Linked DNA regions of Homo sapiens: region 1 is linked to region 2. The links are contacts of gene promoters, found by promoter capture Hi-C in blood cells and fetal thymus (Javierre and others, 2016). All regions are on one chromosome and are shown on one strand. The core of a region is centred on a gene start or on the middle of the fragment in contact, and the rest is flanking DNA. Distances in the headings are between cores, read along the strand shown.

Evidence for each region. Contacts are between HindIII fragments. The CHiCAGO score rates a contact against its expected background, and 5 or more counts as called.
Region 1: a contact is called between a fragment that was not itself captured here and the fragment with the promoter of NTS in region 2, in 2 of 17 cell types (naive B cells and total B cells). The highest score is 7.2, in naive B cells.

The regions. Positions count from the first base shown.
Region 1 is chr12:84,863,325-84,867,738 of GRCh38, reverse strand. SLC6A15 (solute carrier family 6 member 15) reads left to right here. Exons shown (of 12, transcript NM_182767.6): 10 at 546-705; 11 at 4,138-4,300. Among named protein-coding and RNA genes, the nearest start is that of SLC6A15, 47 kb to the left of the region's middle. The HindIII fragment of the contact is 337 bases long and covers 2,597-2,933 here.
Region 2 is chr12:85,871,511-85,875,928 of GRCh38, reverse strand. It overlaps NTS (neurotensin), which reads right to left and starts at 1,634. Exons shown (of 4, transcript NM_006183.5): 1 at 1,453-1,634. The coding sequence starts at 1,525. The HindIII fragment of the contact is 11,906 bases long and covers 1-3,247 here.

The DNA.
Region 1 (4,414 bases), core at 1,516-4,015, 1.0 Mb after region 2:
ATTGTTGCTGAGGTTAAGTCTGGTCAGATTTTTCCACTTATGCTTGAAAAGTAACCATATTTCAATCAAATATATAATATGTATATTTCATAATAATATAAGCAATATTAGTCTCATTATTAATTCAAAAATCTCATCTATATTTCAACACTGTAGAACATTATTAAATGAATAAATGACCTATAAATATTTGGTGCCTGAAGAAGTCACTTTGCTATTAATTATACGAATAGAGTATGGAAATTTATACTTTTAAATTTTTCTCTAAACTTTGACTCATTTATTATTGTACTTGGTAAATGAGTTTCCACGGGCTCAGGGAGATGAATTACTGTCTTAGAATAAATTTGTATGAATGTTGAGGCTACACCCAGGTAACCTAATTCCTAATAGGTTATATGCCATGTATCAGGAAAGGTATTGCCTGTTTATATGATGGACATGTTATAAAAGTTTTAAAAGTTTGAATATAATAATTTATAATAAAGTTTAAAGGCCTTGTCTCTGAATAGAGTCTCATTTTTTCATTTATTTCTTTTGTCTAGTTATCTGTTGTCTTCTGGCATTTTGTATTGGCCTGATATTTGTGCAACGCTCTGGAAATTACTTTGTTACAATGTTTGATGATTATTCTGCTACACTGCCTCTGCTAATTGTAGTCATTTTGGAGAATATTGCTGTATGCTTTGTTTATGGCATAGATAAGTAAGTATATTTGCTTTTATGTATTCACTTTTAATCTCTAGTTTGAAAACATCAATTATCAATGTTCATTTCATTTAGAAGAGGAAATAAATGAATAGAGGGAACAATTCTTTAAAAAATCAAACCTTTTGCAGGCTCTCACTGATTCAACAGTTTTGGTAAATTACATTTCCCTGTTGGGCAAATAGAATTATATAGGATGTAATAGTATGTAGAATTTTAGATCTTTGATTTGGTCCTGGTTATCAAATAGCTAACTTTCAGGATTTAGTAAGTATTGGCAGAGTTCCAAGAACCTTAGTTTCTTTTGAGTTCTTTATTGTTATCTACATTTCACAGATAAGGAAAATCAAGCTTAGAGAGACACCCTGTGACTTGCCTGTCACCCACCTGGACAGCAGCAGACCTGGGACTCATGTCCATTTCTGTTTAACTCTAAAGCTTATCTCCTAATTATATTGCTAAATTGATTTATAAGAGGAGTGCATGTGTCATAATGCCTTATATAGCAGGACAATATTGGGAAATGATATTTTCCCAGGTCTGAGATGTATATGTCATTTGCTGCACAGAAACATTATTTTTATATAGAGTCATTACTTAAATTCACTATACGCATAAATAATGAATAAATTCACTATTTATTCATAAATTCATATCAAATACACATACTTTTCACACCATTCAGGTACACTGATGTGAAAAGTGTATGTATTTGAAATGATGTGAAGCACCAGAGTTCTCTCAAGGGAAAAAGACCTTTGGAGGATTTGTCCAATACTTTTTATAGTCACTGTCTCTAATCACATACATGGACTGAGAGGTAGTAAGATCACCAAGCTCATTACAGCCCTATGTAAAGTAGTAATGCATGCACCTTAAGTGAAGGCCAGAGTCCTTTTAAGCAGCATAAAGAATATTGTGGGTATTGAATGAGCTTTATAACAAAGCTTAGAGAATGTTTTTTGTGGTTGCCAAAAGCTCCAGGTCAGGAAGCTTAGGAGAACTTACATTTAATAATCATGTACTGTATAATAATAGTAGTAATAGCTCTTAGTGTATAATCCAGCAATCATGCTACTTGGTATTTACCCAAAGGAGTTGAAAACTTATGCCCACTTAAAATTCTGCACGTGGGTGTTTATAGCAACTATATTCATAATTGCCCAAACTTGGAGGCAAACAAGATATCCTTTAGTAGGTAAATGGATAAATTGTCATACATCCAGACAATGAAATATTATTCAATCCATGAAAAGACACAGAGGAAATTTTAATGCACATTACTTAGTGAAAAAAGTCACATATGAAAAGGTTACATATTGTAAGATTCCCCTATATTATAATATGGAAAAGGTAAAACTATGGAAACAGTAAAAACATCAGCAGTTAACAGGGGTTGGGCCAGATCCAGGGATGTATACGCTGAGCACAGAATGTTTAGGGCAGTGAAACTACTCTGTATGACACTGTAATGGTGGACACACGTCATTATACATTTGTCCAAATCCAGAGAATGTACTACACAAACAGTGAATTCCAGTGTAAACTGTGGGCTCTAGGTAATAATGATGTGTTAACTTATGTAGGTTCATCAATTGTAACCAACATTCCACTCTCGTGGGGGTTGCTGATAATGGAGGAGGTTATGCACATATATTGGTAGGAGCTATATGGGAAATCTCTCTACTTTCAGCTCAATTTTGCTGTGAACCTAAAATTGCTCTTAAAAAATAAAGTGTGTAATCAAAAAATACTCCTTGTTAACTAACATGATCCATATCTTACAGATGGGAAACTGCCCCTTCTTTTACAGGAGGATACAATATGTTAGCTGTAGAGCCAGTACTGTAACCTTGACCTTCATTTCAAGGCCAGGTTTCTCTAAGCTTTACTAGGCTACTCAAAACTCATAACCTGTACCATGATGGAATTTGATATTGTTTTTGGACTGATCTGTAAATAAATACATTTGTAATTTAGATTTCCATTTAGACAGTTCGTTATTCATGATAGACTTACTAAAGAATCTCTCTTTTTAATGCTAGTGTTCCTGAATAACACTATTTATAACAACAGAAGAAAAAATACTACTACTAATAGATGCATCTGTCGATTTTGTACCATATGTGAGGTAGTATGCTAAGCATCCATTGTTTATGGTTCTAGTAATAACCCTCAAAGGTGGGTATTATATTATATTTTTGGAAAACACCAAAAATGAAGCTTAGAGAGATTAAGATATACATCAAAAGAACACAGAACTGTGATCTGAAATGAGGTCTCTTGGTCTTCAAAGTTCATATTTTTTCTAAAGGGCAGGTGTAGAATTCTTACATTGAAGATGTCCTTTAAGATTCTGGAGCAACTTGGAAGAAATGAAAAAGGGAAGAGAAACATAGAGATTAAGACTGGGCCAGGTGTGGTGGCTCAAGCCTGTAATCCCAACACTTTGGGAGGTCAAGGTGGGCAGATCACTTGAGGTCAGGAGATCGAGAGCAGTCTGACCAACATGGTGAAACGCCATCTCTACTAAAAATACAAAAATCAGCCGGGCGTGATGGTGGTCGCCTGTAATCCCAGCTACTCGGGAGGCTGAGGCAGGAGAATTGCTTGAACCTGGGAAGATGAGGTTGCAGTGAGTCGAGATTGTGCCACTGTACTCCAGCCTGGGCAACAGGTGAGACTCTGTCTCAAAAAAAAAAAAAAAAAAGAAAGAAAGAATGGACTCAAGAGACATAACAATTCATAACAATTAGTTATTATATGTAGACCTTTTTAGAAATTCGGAATGTAAAAAGAAGAGTTCAGAAAATATAACATTGATTAGGTATATTTGATGATATTAAGGAATTATTATTATGCTTTTAATGCTGTGATATTAAGGAATTATTACTTTTACTAATTATTACTAAAGTAATAGTAAAATTATTAGGAAAAGTAGTAATTAGTAAAATTATTTACTAATAAGTAATTATTACTAAAAGTAATAATTCCTTGATAGAATAGTATTAATAGCATAGTAATAATTCCTTAATATATAATTACTTAATATTTCTTAATAATATTTAAGCAGTAATTACTAAAAGAAATAATTTCTAAATAATTCCTTTTTGTAATTATTACTTGTATTACTAAAAAAGAGACAAGAAATTTTTAATATACTGAAAATATTTTGTTTATAGAATAGAAAGTTATCAGTAGAAGGAGAAATCAGTAATTGGCTTAAGAGAGCTTTCCCTAAATAAAAATTATAGTACTTACCTGGCTTCATTTTACTTTATAGTCATCTTCCAAGAGGAACTTTGATACAGTATAAAATGTCATAGGGTATCAATGGTAAATGTTTGTCAGACCATTAATATAATGCACATTTTTTAAGGTTTAGCAATATTAAATTAAGGAATAATTAAATACTTTCTTTTTATTCAGGTTTATGGAAGACCTAAAAGATATGCTGGGCTTTGCTCCCAGCAGATATTACTACTATATGTGGAAATATATTTCTCCTCTAATGCTATTATCATTGCTAATAGCTAGTGTTGTGAATATGGGATTAAGTCCTCCTGGCTATAACGCATGGATTGAAGATAAGGTAAATACAAAATAAGGGAATTACATTTTTAAAAGATATATAAAAAGCTTTTTTAGAGGGCTTTTTCTTTTGTCTCCATCACAGTATTTTTTGCTGTTTAATGAATGGCATAGC
Region 2 (4,418 bases), core at 385-2,884:
AAAATTTGGAAAATACTATACAATAATAAAAATAAAGTTAAAAATGACTCTATCTTCCTTGTACTACACACTCAGTAAAAAGAAATGCCACAATTGGAGAACCCATTGGCTTAATTTTACCTAGAACCTAAATTATACAAGAGATCTTTTCTCACTATTTGTTAGAGACATAATCTGTTTTAGGAATTTATGAACAATGTATACCAAAATCCTTATAACTATTGCATTATTACAACAAGTAGTTTCAAGTTAATAAACACAGTGCTTAATCAATAACCCAGTTTTTCTTCCAGAAGTATGTGAATCTTTAATCTCATATAACTTTCAGATAAAATCATAATTATAGAAAAGTTTGTTTTTTCTCATAAGATTTAAAAAGTAGAAGCTGAAAGTTATGTTCTGATGATTAAAATAAATTTAAAATTTTGTATAAATCACATTTATATCTTCTTAGATTTTAATTTCATAATTTAAATCAAATGATAGCATGAGTTTGAGTTAAACATTTCCATGTCATATTTATGATACATAAAAGCACAGAACAGGTTAAATTATTTTTGCTGCATTTGCTTCCTAATGTGTTCTTTTCCCTTTGAAGTGTTCATTGTAATATTTCTTAAATATTAAGTAGAGCCTTTTGCAATGGTTGTAATATTTCATGTTATACCTTTCAATTTAAGTCTTATTTTCAAAGTGAGTTATTCGTAGATACTTAGGACTATATAACTTCTTTCAAACCACATGCAAAACACTCTAAAGTCAAATAATTTCCATCAATATAAGAATACCAATTTTCCAATTGTATTTTGTATTAACTTAAATGGCATGGAAAAAATGCCAAACAGTTATATTAATAGCACACTTATTAGACTATGCAAATTCTGTTCTCAAAAAGGATCTGGAATATTTTTGTATTTTTCTAGAAATAATTTTCTACAAATAATGCTTCATTTTTCACTAAGTATCAATTTTCACTTTATTTGTTATCTTAACACAAACAAGAAAATAATACGGGGACTATTACAAGGGCGTGAGGGCCACCGCTTCCTAAGAGAATGAATGAGGATGAGAGTAAAACATTTTGAATGGAATGGGATTTAATGATGGGTTTGCAGGTTGACAGCCACTGCCTCTGTATTTCTCATTAGATAATGATCAGCCTAATTGAAAGTTTTGTAGGGTTTTTTTCCCTCTAGTTGTTGAATTCCAAAGGAGGTCGTGCAGTGTTTCATTGAAATCCCTTTTATTGCTTTGCAGATTTTAAAAGAGAAAATACATCTCTCAGTAATCATAAAGGCAGAGAAAGAGATACTCAGTTTCTGTCACTAAAAGGTAAATCCTGAATAAAAGGGAGCAACTCTTCTCCCCAGATACATTAACATAAGTAGCAACACACTGCAAAAGAGAAAAAAGAAATCACTTCAGGGAGTTGTGAAATTCTGTTTTGCTTACCTGAGCACAGACTCCAGGAGCTGAAAGCCAGGAGTAGCATGCATACAAGCTGGATTTTCATTCCTGCCATCATCTTTCAGCCTTCTAACAAGCCAAGTCCGTAAAAGTCAGAAGCACACTGAAGGGGGCTCTCTCTAGCACTTCCTCTTTCCTTCAGCTGGCTTTGAAAGTGAGTGAACTATGAGAGGTGCTCTGGCCATTCCCCTATATATATAAGCAGGAGGATGATGTCATTGATTGTACAGACATTATCTTTGCAGGATGTGCCCTATCTTCACCTCCATCCCTCCCCTCTTTGCCCTGCTTTCTCCTCCCCTTTTCCTTTGTCCCCCCTGCTCTCCTCCCCCATTTCTGAACCTTGAGTGAAAGTGACGATCTTCCCTAATTGCTGCTGCTGCTGCTTTGGATTTCTGACGCACAGAAGGAGTCATTCAACTGCACTGACATACAGCATACATACAGCATACTGACAAAGAACCCCCAGTATCATCCTTTTCCCACTTCTCATTCCCCCACTCCAAAAGTTGTCATTTTGATTTTGTGAAACATGAGATCTGTTATTTCTAATTTTTAAGGAAAATCTCCAGGATGAATGCATGAAATCAGTGATTCCTTAGGCTTGGAAGTTCTTGAAGAGTTAGGGTGCTTCTCTGGTAATTCAAACTTCTGAGCAAATGTTTAGTGGTTCCAAAACTAATACAGGTTTTAAATAATCCATGCTGGAATAAGATGGAATAGAGACAGAGAATCAGTTATAAAAATTAAGCAATTAAGTTTAGAGAATAGAAAGAAAATCAATAAAAAGAAATAATAGATCCAGGGAATAAGATATTATTTCCTAACAAATAGAAAATATTTTATTGTAAGTAATGAGAGATGACTGAACTATGTGTGCTGACTTTTGGTTGAATGTATTAGAAAAACAATTTCATGTTTATAAAATCCAGCTCTAAATTACTTACATTCTAGCAGGTAAAAATTTGTGTTGTTGTATCACTGACTTTTTTTCTGTACATTATCTCTTTTTATGCCTATATTTTTCTGCTCTTTTTGAATTCATTCTTGATGCCATGTCTCACTCTTTGTATAATTCCCTTCTCAACAGTTTTTACTATTGCATCGGCTTTCTTTCCCTGTTATAATACTCTTTTCACCATAAAAAAAGAGATTGTACTTTTGGAAAGGAGACAATCCTAAATAACCACCATTCACCAAAGTCACTTTTCTATGATAGTCTTCATGTATTTCATGAGTTACACTGATACCCATTCTTTGTCTGAGTTCTCAAAAGAAAATTGTTCAAAATGCCTTTTAGAGTAAAACTTTCTTCTTGTAGTAAGCATTTCAAGATACATGGGGTAATTTGACAAGTCAGTGCTGTTAGAGATGTGAATATTTGAATGTAAAGTTGTCTGAGTCTTGTTTAATTTTTAAATAAATCAATCATGTAGTAACAGTTGAGAAAAAATAGGATTGGTTCCTATAGATAATTGATTTATATTATACAATCTATGAGTTTAACTTTTTCACCTTTACCCAAAACTTAAGCAAAGCGATTAAATCCAAACATTTAATAATTACTTAGAATAGCAAGGAGTCTTTCATATAATACCAGAAATTTAATAATAACTGATATATTTATTACTTTTAGTTTGTTTTCTGAACTTACATAAAACACAATATTGAACATACTCACATGGAGGAAGGTTTCTGTAAAGTATTTAGTTGACAAATGTGAAATACATACGTCTAGATGTTTTCTGCTTTCCTACCATTAGGGGGAGCAATGGAAGCTTGAAACACTTGGTTTTCACTTAACAGAGTCTCAGTGAGGATTTGTGCTTACTTTCCTGTTACTATCAGAGCATCTTTGTGACAGAATCCTCTTAAAGCCACTTTGATTAACAAATCGGGAAAATTATATATACTTTGCATGATAATTAAATTAGTTGTTTTCTCTGCTTTTGAATTGCAAATACAAAGAATGATCTTTTAAAATGTGTGATAGCAGTCTAATAGTAAAAAGGAAATGTGATTCTTATTTTCCTCAGATGATTTCTTCAATATGTTGACAAAATTGATCCCTAATTAATTAGAAAAAAGGGGGAGAAGAATTAATGGAAATTCATTTTAAATATATAACATGGATATTAGTTGTTAATGTGAAAATTGAGATATGTGATAAATATTCAAGAATAGGGGAAACATTAAGTTATGTCAAATAATTCAAATTCAAATAGATGCTATATGCTACTTTTCTTTTGGGGAAAAAAGATGTATAACTTTGGTAAAATTATGATGTAGATAAACTTTGACCTCTAATTGGTATTTTCTTTAATGTGTTAGGCTTTTTGTTTCTTGCTCTAATCTAATGCCTTCAAGCTACACATAAACCAATAAAACAATTTGTTGTAGGGATAAAGGTTAAGTATGTATTTTTCCACTTAAAAAGTACCCTACGAACTTCCTAAATGATGCCTTTAATGCAGGATTGTAGACACCTTGCTATGGAGATGGGTGAACTGTTTTTATTTTAAAGGCTTTTTACCCCAGATCCTTTTTCTTTTTTCTTTTTTTTTTTTTTTGAGATGGAGCTTCTCTCTGTCACCAGGCTGGAGTGCAGTGGTGTGATCTCGGCTCACTGCAGTCTCCACCTCCTGGGTTCAAGCAACTCTCCTGCCTCAGCCCCCCGAGTAGCTGGGACTACAGGCACACCACCAGGCCCAGCTAATTCTTGTATTTTTAGTAGAGACGGGGTTTCACCATGTTGGCCAGGATGGTCTCGATCTCTTGACCTCATGATCCGCCCACCTCGGCCTCCCAAAGTGCTGGGATTACAGGCGTGAGCCACCATGCCCGGCATACCTTAGATCCTTCTAAGGGTTACCTAGTTCTTAAAATATCTGATAAAGATTTTAAGCATTGTCCTTTAATAATATTCCTGTGTTGGCCTTCTTAAGTGGATG